Linked DNA regions of Homo sapiens: region 1 is linked to region 2. Evidence: promoter capture Hi-C in 16 types of primary human blood cells and fetal thymus (Javierre and others, 2016). All regions are on one chromosome and are shown on one strand. Each heading gives the region's core, a stretch centred on a gene start or on the middle of the fragment in contact. The rest is flanking DNA. Distances are from core to core; before and after follow the strand shown.

What was found. The method cuts DNA at HindIII sites, captures the fragments that hold promoters and counts their contacts. A CHiCAGO score of 5 or more calls a contact.
Region 1: the fragment with the promoter of ANPEP here is called in contact with a fragment that was not itself captured in region 2 in 2 of 17 cell types (neutrophils and monocytes); the score reaches 6.3 in neutrophils.

The regions. Positions count from the first base shown.
Region 1 is chr15:89,812,990-89,818,336 of GRCh38, reverse strand. It overlaps ANPEP (alanyl aminopeptidase, membrane), which reads left to right and starts at 3,485. Exons shown (of 21, transcript NM_001150.3): 1 at 3,485-3,565. RefSeq lists cis regulatory regions at 3,102-3,104, 3,122-3,151, 3,150-3,153, 3,061-3,189, 3,441-3,446, promoters at 3,061-3,549, 2,395-3,549 and an enhancer at 3,417-3,916. The HindIII fragment of the contact is 11,363 bases long and covers 1-5,347 here.
Region 2 is chr15:90,082,120-90,087,561 of GRCh38, reverse strand. IDH2 (isocitrate dehydrogenase (NADP(+)) 2) reads left to right here. Exons shown (of 11, transcript NM_002168.4): 6 at 1-123; 7 at 299-450; 8 at 2,175-2,287; 9 at 2,464-2,561; 10 at 2,654-2,746; 11 at 3,209-4,517. The coding sequence ends at 3,296. It overlaps ZNF710 (zinc finger protein 710), which reads right to left. Exons shown (of 5, transcript NM_198526.4): 5 at 5,371-5,442. ZNF710-AS1 (ZNF710 antisense RNA 1) reads left to right here and starts at 5,355. Exons shown (of 2, transcript NR_146321.1): 1 at 5,355-5,442. RefSeq lists enhancers at 1-477, 2,583-3,083, 3,084-3,584. The HindIII fragment of the contact is 2,375 bases long and covers 1,738-4,112 here.

The DNA.
Region 1 (5,347 bases), core at 2,236-4,735, 270 kb after region 2:
ATCCTAGTTATTTTTGATAGCCATATGCATTCCATTGCAGGGCATACAATAATCATTCATTTATCCCATCTCTATTGGTGGACATTTAGGTTGTCTCCAGCTATTAGATTGGTGCAAAAGTCATTGTGGTTTTGGCTCAATGTTGCAGCGATGCAGTGGAAAGCCTTGTGTATTCCTTTCACTTACGTGTGAGCATTATCTGTAGGATAAATTTCTGGAAGTGCCAAGTCAAACAGGACATGTGTTTATATGTTTGATAAATACTGCCCAAATATTCTCTTTTGAGGTCGAGTCAGTCTACACACCAACCAGCAATGCAGGGGGTTGCCTGTTTTCCTCCCACCCTTGCGAATAGTGTGTTACCAAACTTTTTTTTTTTTTTTTGAGACAGGGACTCACTCTATCGCTCTGGCTGGAGTGCAGTGACACGATCATGGCTCACTGCAGCCTTGACTTTTCAGGCTCAAGCAATCCTCCCACCTCATTCTTCCAAGTAGCTGGGACTACAGGCACGTGCCACCACGCCTGGCTAATTTTTTTTTTTTGGTAGAGACAGGGTTTTGCCACGTGGCCCAGGCTGGTCTCGAACACCTGGTTTTAAGTGATTCTCCTGCCTCAGCCTCCCAAAGTGCTGGAATTACAGACATGAGCCACTGTGCCTGACCTACCAAACTGCTTTTTATCTTTGCTGATCTGGTAAGTGAAGAATAGTATCTTTTGTAGTTATAATTTTCATTTTCTTAATAAGTGAGTTATTGAACATCTTTTTACATGTTTATGAGCCCATGAATTTTCTTTCTGCAGGAGCAAGCACTGTCTCTTCATCTTTTTTTTCACAGGGGGTGGACAGAGTCTCTCTCTGTTACCCAGGCTGGAGTGTAGTGGCGCAATCTCGGCTCACTGCAACCTCCACCTCCCGGGTTCAAGCGATTCTCCTGCCTCAACCTCCCCAGTAGCTGGGATTACAGGCACCCACCACCATGCCCACCCAATTTTTGTATTTTTAGTAGAGACAGGGTTTCACTGCATTGGCCAGGCTGGTCTCGAACTCCTGACCTCGTAATCTGCCTGCCTTGGCCTCCCAAAGTGCTGGGATTACAAGCATGAGCCACCACGCCCAGCCCACTTAGGCTATTTCTGATTTTCCAGTATTATAAGTAATACTGCAGTGAAAAGCCTTGCATATAAATATTCTATTTCCTTAGGCTAAATTTATTTATTTTTTTGAGACAGTCTTGCTCTGTAGTCGAGGCTGGAGTGCAGTCATGTGATCTCAGCTCACTGAAGCCTCTGCCTCCCAGGTTCAAGCGATTCTCGTGCCTCAGCCTCCCAAGTAGGTGGGACCACAGGCATGCGCCACCACACCTGGCTGATTTTTGTGTTTTAGTACAGACACAGTTTCACCAGGTTGCCCAGGCTGGCCTTGAATTCCCGACCTCAAGTGATCCACCTGCCTTACAGGCATGAGCCACCACGCCCAGCCTCTTCAGGCTAAATTTCTGAAAGTGATCTTCATTCCTAACCCCAAACTGCCCTCCAGAAAGCTGGGTTGCACTTCTGCCACAGCAGGATCTTTACTCCTCTTAAAATCTCCGCGGAGCCTGGGTGGGAGAGGCAGAGCTCCGGGGGGAAGATTCTCTCCTGGCCTGATGTAGTGTTTTCCTTGGCTTGTCAGACATGGAGGAGATTATGCCAGATATGATAGTGGAGAGAGTCAGACATGCATGAGACTGGAGAGAGAAAAAAAACAAAATAGCCTCTGAGGTCTCACTCACAGCCTACTTACTCTTACTTTACACACAATTCTATATTCCGATATGTTTGTGACCTGGTTTTTAAGAGTACAGAGCAAATTAGGAAGGAGAAGCAAGGCTGCTACCTAGAGGTACCCTGGTCCTCCATGAAGTTTCCAAAAGAAGAGCAAGTGCAAGTAAAATAATAAAACACAGCCAGTCACAAAGCCATCAATTTGGACCATGCAGTGCAAGGCTTTAACTGTCCCAAGGATTCCAATCATGGATAAGGAAGAGCTTAAATTTGATTATAAATCTGAAAGTCTGGAAGTCAGCTTGAATATTGTGGTAGACATAATCATATCCTCCTCCTCAAAAGATGCCCTGGTTCTAATGCCCAGAATCTGTGAATATGTTATGCTACCCCACGAAGGGAAATTACAGTTGCAGGTGGAATTCAAGTTGCCAATCCATTGATTTAAAATAGAAAGATTACCCTGGATTATCTGGGTAGGCCCGATGTAATCACAAAGATGCTCACCAGTGGAAGCAAGAGGCAGAACAGTTGGTGTCAGAGTGACAGATTGTGAGAGACTGGTGGGCCACTGCTGGCTTTGAAGATGGATGGGGCCACCAGCCAAGGAATGTGGGCAGCTTCTAGAAGCCAGAAAAGCCAAAGAAACAGGTTCCCTTCCAGCCTCAAGAAAGCTGTATCCCTCAACCCCCTTGCTTTTAGTCCAGCGAGACCCATTTTGGACTTCTGATTTTACAAAACTTGTAAGATAGTAAATTAGTGTTGTTTTATGTTTGTGTTACGGCAGCCACAGGGAACCAATACAAATATTATCTGGTACCGCCCATTAAAGCTGCTCAGAGACAGGGAGCCCCACCCTGGCGGGGCTCCGGTGGCTGCACAACCTCTGCAAGCAGGATCAAGATGAGAGGCGCAGGCCAGGTGTGGTGGCTCACTCCTGTAATCTCAGCACTTTGGGAGGCCAAGGCGGGCGGATCACTTGAGGTCAGGAGTTCGAGACGAGCCTTACATGGTGAAACCCTGTCTCTACTAAAACTCCAAAAATTAACCAGGCGTGGTGGCGTGCACCTGTAGTCCCAGCTACTCGGGAGGCTGAGGCAGGAGAATCGCTTGAACCCAGGAGGAGGAAGTTGCAGTGAGCGGAGAAAGTGCCACTGCACTCCAGCGTGAGCGACAGAGCGAGACTCTGTCTCAAAAACAAATAAAGGAAAAAGAAAAAAATGAGAAGCGCGTGTTCCCGACTCCGGTGCTTTTTCGCAAGGTCGTGCTACTGCGCCTTCTGAACTACGAGTCCCAGGTACCAAGAAAGTTGAATTGCGTGCTGTGGCGGGTCCGTTATCTGCACCACCCGTCTGCACGGGATGCGCTGGCTTCCTGCCCCGGATGCACAAGGCTCCCTGCGGGACACTCAGGGCGAGGCTCTGAGCCCCTCCCCCGCGGCAGATGCCGTCCAGATGTGGCCGGCGGGTCCCGCGGGCTGCGGCGACAGGGACCCCGTCGGGGGCAGCAGGAGCCCTGGTGCATCCCAGGCCCCGGGGGGAAGGCCGGGCCGTCGGAGGAGCGGAGGAGCCCTGGGGGGCTCCCGGGAAGCCGCGGGCGGACGGGGGAGGAGCCCGGGCGGAGCTGCGGGCGGGCGGCCCGCTAGGGGTGAATCGGGTGGAGTAGTGGTCGGGTCCGGTTACTTCCCTTTAAAAAGACGGGAAAGGAGGAGTCCAGTGCTGGAGGGGCAGGGACGGCGGCGGCGCAGCTCGGAACCCGCCAGGGTCCAGGGTCCAGGTTCCAGCGCCCGGCGGCCCAGGCAAGTGGGGCGGGAGGGCGGGGGCTGCGGGCGCGGGTAGGGGTCGTGGGGCAGTTGGGTGCGCGGGAACCGAGGGAGCTGCAGACCCAGCGCTTGGCGCGTGCGGAGCTGGACTTCTGCGGCCGCGACGCCCCTCTTCCCAGATGGGTAAACTGAGGGCCAGGGAAAGCGAAGAATTCTTTTGGCCGAGCTCCCACTACGATCTCGCGGTCAAGTGGGTCCCCAGCGGGCCTCGCAGGGGTCGGAGGGGCTCCCATCTGGGGAGGGGGCCCCAGGGTGGGCGAGGGCGACGGGAGCCTGGGGAGGACGGACGGGGAGGGCGGCGGAGCGGAGCTAAGCTGCGGCGGGTGGACCCGGCTCGGCCGCGGCCACTCTGTCCCTGGTGGGTGGGGCGCGGCCGAAGGCAAAGGGCGAACCCGGCCCGCCTGTGGGGTCTCTGGCCAACACTGGGCTCAGAGGCCCTTTCTTTAACCTTAGATCTCGCTCCTCGGTCTAAAGCCTCCGCCGCAGCTCTCAGTGAAGAGGAAGGGGAACTCTAGGTGCTCAACGCCCGCGTTACAGTCGCGTTCTCCCTCGCTCCTACAACCCGGCCAAGATGCCGGGGCATGGATGGGGACCGAGGTTTGGGGGTTGTGGAGCCTATTCCACGCCCTCCCTGGTGAGCAACTGAGACAGATCCAGGGCCCCATTGCAATCCACTCTTGGTCTGGGAAAAGGTCCCCTAAACAGGGCCAATGGGATCCTTTCCCCAAATGACTCCAGAACGCACCCCCCCCCCCCAGCAGTGCGGTGGGCAGGGACGGCCCAGGTGGGCTATGTCCTGGGGTTTTGTGACTGGATCCCCACTCCTCCCCCACCTCAGCCCCTGGACTGCAACCCACCAGGCCGTGTTCGGGGGTGGTCAGAGCCCTGGTCTCAGCCAGACCTGAGGTCTGATGTGGCTTCATCCCTGAGTCTCTAAACGCCCTGGCCTTACTGGGCCTCAGTTAATTCACCTGTGAAAGGGGAGGCTTGGACCAGAGGGCCCCTCAGGGTATGTGTTTTGTGGAGGGGAGGTGGGCGTGTGGGGTAGGGGTGACCAGGAGGAAGTGGGGACAGCCTCTGTCCCACAGGAAGGCTGGCTAGCCCCAGTGGGTATGGGGGAGCTGGGCAGGGAAGAGGGTGGACTCCCCTCTCCCTGTGGGAGGGTGTGCTGGGCCCATGAGGCCCTCATCCACTCTCAGCCACCTTCCTGTGGAGCCCTAGCCTCGAAGGCCACACTATGAGTGCAAGGAGGCCACCCACAGCGCTGCTCCCGCTTCACAGGTGGGGAAACCGGCCCAGTGTCTTGAGGCAGCCCAGCCGCCTGCCCTGTGCTTCCCCCAGAGCCTTCTGGGGAATGAGACCTTCGTTACACGCTGGCGCTCCTTACACCCCTACAGCCTTTAAGCTAAGGCCTCCAGCCCCATCGCTGTAAGAATTGTATGCTAGGCATTCTGAGGACATAGATGGGGGTCCCCATGTCGGAAGGAGCCAAGGTGTTGGAACTGGGTCCAGTTCCTGGGCTGGCTCTGGTGGGAGATCTGGAACCCTATGCTGGGGCTCCTGGACAGCCCTGGAGGCATGGCATGGACAGTGTGTCAGCCGCACACCGAGGCCCTGGGGTGTCCTTATTCACATAGGCTGGCAGCCATCTATCCCTAGCCCGGGCTTCACCCCGGGTGCCTGTCACTCCTGGCCCTACAGTGGTCCCAGTCACACCTTGGAGGCAAGATGTGGGTCCTCCACAGGCCTGTGTCTGGA
Region 2 (5,442 bases), core at 1,676-4,175:
TGCGCACAGCTGCTTCCAGTATGCCATCCAGAAGAAATGGCCGCTGTACATGAGCACCAAGAACACCATACTGAAAGCCTACGATGGGCGTTTCAAGGACATCTTCCAGGAGATCTTTGACAAGTAAAGCCTCATCCATGTACTCTGTGGCCTTTCTTCCCTTCCCCCCATGCTGTTCCCATCCTACCCTGGGAAGGTCGCTATTAGAGTGCATTTGGCTCAGCTCCGAGGCTCAGGGAGGGATCCCCAACCTGTCAGCCTTCTGCCCTCTCCCCATAACAGACCTTTTTACTCCCAGGCACTATAAGACCGACTTCGACAAGAATAAGATCTGGTATGAGCACCGGCTCATTGATGACATGGTGGCTCAGGTCCTCAAGTCTTCGGGTGGCTTTGTGTGGGCCTGCAAGAACTATGACGGAGATGTGCAGTCAGACATCCTGGCCCAGGGTACGCTGGGAGGACGCTGCTCCCTGTGGGGGTGGACTGTTGGTCTTCTCTGGCTGGAGGGATTTTCAGACCCTTTTGGTAGAAAACTCTAGTGGAGCAGGACTCATTGCAGGGTCCTCTGTGGACAGCAGGGGGCAGGAGCTCCCTGGCATCTGAGTGAGAGAGGATCACAAATTAGGTTTGGACTGGTGTATGACTGAGGCTGCTCTTAGAGAGAAAGGAGGGCACAGGAATTCCAGGGCTAGGTTGACAGCCCTAAGGTTGCTCCAGTCCATGATGGAGCCTCATGACTCTTTGGTTCCAGTAGGAAAATGGGATCAAGCGGGACTGGAGGTTCTTTAAACTACAGCGAATGCATTTTGCATAGTGAACCTAATGGATGGAAGAGAATGTTGGGGAAGCCTGCAAACCCCCAAGCCCTAGGGTGTCCTAAAAGACAAATCAGATTGCAGTAAAAAGTATAGGTGATGAGGTCAGGAGTTTGAGACCAGCGTGGCCAACATGACGAAACCCCGTCTCTACTAAAAATGCAAAAAAATTTAGCTGGGCATGGAGGCGGGCACAGTCATGGACACCTGTAATCCCAGCTACTTGAGAGGCTGAGGCAGGAGAATCTCTTGAACCCAGGAGGTGGAGGTTGCAGTGAGCCGAGATTGCGCCATTGCACTCCAGCCTGGGCAACAAGGGTGAAACTCCGTCTCCAAAAAAAATAAAAAATAAAAAATAAAGTATAGGTGAGACCATTAGAGAAGAACAGCGAGAAATGGGCCAATTGTGTTGGGAACAAGAGCAGGAAAGGTGGTAGGTGTGGGAAACAGGCAGGACATAGAGAGTGAAAGAGAAACCTAAGCTTACCAGGGCAGCTCCTGGTATGGGGAAAAGGGAAGCCCAGGACGGGTTCTGATGAAAAGCAGAGTCTTGTTACTTTGTGTAAACCTTTGGCTTTACTTTGGAAAGTTCAGTGGGGATCCTCTCACCGAACAATTCCCATCTAGGATAGAAGGATGAAACGCCATAGCAGATGAGGCAGAGGCATGAAAATGAACCTTAAGTGTCTAAGGAATGGTGTGAAGGTGCAGGTAAAATGGAGAAGGGATTGCTTACAGCCAAAATTCTTAGAATTCATAGACAAAGCATTTTCCTGTAGATGTTGTCCATGTTTTCTTTCTTCAATCCTTATTTTGGTGTCATGGGGGTGCCTTTGAAGCCCTGGAGTCCTTGACAATAGAAAAGCTTGCTGGAGTTGACATGTGGATTTGGGAGCATTCAGAAATTAATCAAAAAGCTTGAAAGTGGCCTAAGAGAGTAGCTGCAAAAGTGATTGTTGGGAAATAGCTGACCACAGCTTTATTGTTTTCCTTGAATGTGCCTCCGGGTCACGAGCCAGGCTGGGTGGCAGGCTGTGGGGGACCACAGGACTCTGTGGCCTCTTGGGCCCTGTGGGCCACAGGCTGTGGGGCGCCTGGAGCTGGTGACACAGATGGATGTTAATGTGCTGGTGATAGCCACCCTCCAGTGCCCTCCAGCCCTGTGCTGGGCCCTGGAGACCCACAGGAGGGTGAAGAGACCTGGAACAGTCCCTGTCCTCCCAGTTGCAGCTGGGGGAGGCTGAGTAGAGCCACGAACTATGGCAGCTACAATATTGGGTTGTAGAGGGCAGCAGGGCTCAGCTGGGTGGCCCCAGGAGAGGCGAGGCCCTGAGAGAAAGGCTTTCTACCCTCCAGGCTTTGGCTCCCTTGGCCTGATGACGTCCGTCCTGGTCTGCCCTGATGGGAAGACGATTGAGGCTGAGGCCGCTCATGGGACCGTCACCCGCCACTATCGGGAGCACCAGAAGGTGAGTGCAGGGCATGGGGCCTCACAATGCCCCTCTACCCCAGGGGCCTAAAGCCCACTGGGCTGAGGGCTGGAAGGACGAGCCTGACCCACCAGCCCAGGGGCGGGCAGCTGTATCTGGGCAGCCTCCTCACTAGCTGGCTCGGCTCTTGATCTCCCTGCAACCCCCGTCCCCAGGGCCGGCCCACCAGCACCAACCCCATCGCCAGCATCTTTGCCTGGACACGTGGCCTGGAGCACCGGGGGAAGCTGGATGGGAACCAAGACCTCATCAGGTGAGCATGGAGGGAGAGGCCGGAGCTGCCCAGGACAGGCTCTGGGTCCTGCCCTTGCACAGATGGGGTCTCATTCTGCCCCATCCCCATAGGTTTGCCCAGATGCTGGAGAAGGTGTGCGTGGAGACGGTGGAGAGTGGAGCCATGACCAAGGACCTGGCGGGCTGCATTCACGGCCTCAGCAAGTGCGTGGCCTGGGGTGGTAGGCAGACCCTGGGGCCATGTGGGAGGAAGCCAGGGGACCCCTCCTAAAGTCCCCCTCATGAGTCAGCTTAGCTGCAAGGGGGCCTGGGGCAGGACATGTCCACAGCCCTGAGAGACTGCTCAGGCCAGCCTCTGTAGACCAGGTCTAGTGAGTTCCTCCCCATCCCTGAGGCTGGCTACTCAGAGCTCCTTCCGACCCTGCCCACACCCCTTTCCCAGCTTCTCTCAGGAGAGCAGTTACCTGGCAAGACAGACCCTGCGGGTGCCTGCCGAATCTCGGTGGCCTCATGGTAGGGGGCTATAGCTGGCCTCTGGCCTGTAGTCTGGGTGGCAGGAGATGGCTGTTCTGATGCCCAAGCTCAGGCTGTTCCCTGGAAGGGCCTGGCTGATGGCCTTGGCAAGGCCTGGAGCCACCCCTGATGTGAGTGGTGCTCTCTCTGCAGTGTGAAGCTGAACGAGCACTTCCTGAACACCACGGACTTCCTCGACACCATCAAGAGCAACCTGGACAGAGCCCTGGGCAGGCAGTAGGGGGAGGCGCCACCCATGGCTGCAGTGGAGGGGCCAGGGCTGAGCCGGCGGGTCCTCCTGAGCGCGGCAGAGGGTGAGCCTCACAGCCCCTCTCTGGAGGCCTTTCTAGGGGATGTTTTTTTATAAGCCAGATGTTTTTAAAAGCATATGTGTGTTTCCCCTCATGGTGACGTGAGGCAGGAGCAGTGCGTTTTACCTCAGCCAGTCAGTATGTTTTGCATACTGTAATTTATATTGCCCTTGGAACACATGGTGCCATATTTAGCTACTAAAAAGCTCTTCACAAAATTGTCTGCTGTGTTTGTCCCTGAGGGGAGGAGGTAGTGGGACCCTGAGGCAGAGGCCCTGCTAGAGCTGGCAGGTTCCCCTGGGGCAGACCAGAGCACCTCAGGAAGGGGCTGCCACGGCAGGGAAGGGACCAGGCAGCCCTGGGAGCCCGCATTCCACAGGGGCCCACTGCGGAGTTCTCGGACACTCAGGGCACAGGCCTGTGGGTTCCCTGGAATTTTCTAGCATGATCCAGTTTCTGTGTCCAGTTCTCCATTCTGAGAGTCAATCAGTTCCTGATAGGTTGTCATTGATTTTTTTCTTCGTTGGTTTTAACCTTCTAAACATCTCCAGGCCACTTTCTTAGCCTTTTTCTAGGTACTAAAAAGAGGTCCTACCCACACCTGCCTCACACTTCTCCTTTCCAAGGCTGCCTGAGTTTGGAGGGGCTTGGGTGTGTGTGAACAAGGGCCCTGCATTGTCTAGGCCTGCAGTTCCCAGGCTTGGGTTCACTTTCACCATGCATTGGCAAAACTAGAAAAGTAAGCTTGTGACAAATTGTTCTCGGCCGGGCACAGTGGCGCACGCCTATAATCCCTGTACTTTGGGAGGCTGAGGTGGGTGGATCACTTGAGGCCAGGAGTTCGAGACCAGCCTGGCCAACATGGTGAAACCCCATCTCTACTCAAAATACAAAAATTAGCCAGGCGTGGTGATGCGCACCTGCAGTCCCAGCTACTCGGGAGGCTGAGGCAGGAAAATGGCTTGAACCTGGGAGGCAGAGGTTGCAGTGAGCCGAGACTGCACCACTGCACTCCAGCCTGGGTGACAGAGCAAGACTCTGTCTCAAAAAAAAAAAAAAAAAAAAAAAAAAAAAAATTGCTCTATGCAAGTTTTTTAGCCCCATGTAAAAAGGAAAAATAAAAGTTGCTCTAAAGCTACATATAATCAAAAGGACTGTCCTCTGCATAGTAAGTTCTGCAAAGCTTCTTCTTTTTGGTGTTAAAATGTCCTGGAGAAGAGTTGTATAATCTTTATAAAGTCCTGGCCAGGTGTGGTGGCTCATGCCTATAGTCCCAGCACTTTGGGAGGCCAAGGTGGGAGGATCACTTGAGCCCGGGAGTTTGAGGCTGTAGTGAGCTATGACTGCACCACTGTACTCCAGCCTGAGTAACAGAGTGAGACCCCATCTCTCAAAACCCCATCTTACAAAGTCCCTTTCCTAAATACTGGGGGGACTCCTATGGCTCCTGAAACCCGACCATTGCGGTAGACTGAGTGGCTTTGGAAGGGCTCTAGCCCTCCATCCACACTGGTGACCCCCCGCTTGCTTTTCCTGAGTAATGCCCTGAAACTCTCAGGGCTATAAGAAGAAACGTGGACTGCTGGCTCTAGCAGGCCCAGCCCCTGGGAGGAAGCTCAAGGCTTCCTGCCTCTTCTTGCCTGTCACCAGCACGGGGCTGGCAGCTCTGCAGAACGCAGCCTCTGAAGCCCAGCCTGGCATCGGGAGCTGGCTTCTTTCCTGAAGCCATGTGGGTGGGTAGGGAGGGGAAGCAGCTTTTCTCTGCAAGTGGTGGGAATACAGGGGCCGTGGCCCACACCACTCTCTTGGGCCCGGGGCAGCTGGCTATAGGCGCCTGGCCCTGCAGGGGGCCATTCCAGTGCAGAGGATGGTCTCAGCCTCCCCCGGGCCCTGGGAGAGTGCAGCCCTGCTGTGTGGGGCTGGGAAGTTTTGCTGGGAGTTCCTGCTGGGAGTGAGGGCCAGGTCCCCAAGAGCTGGGGAAAGAAGCATTTGCAGTCACCTCACTAAAGAATATTCATTTATTTATAATTATTGCTAAGTAAACTTCTCTTTTAAACAGGAACATAAAAACACAGT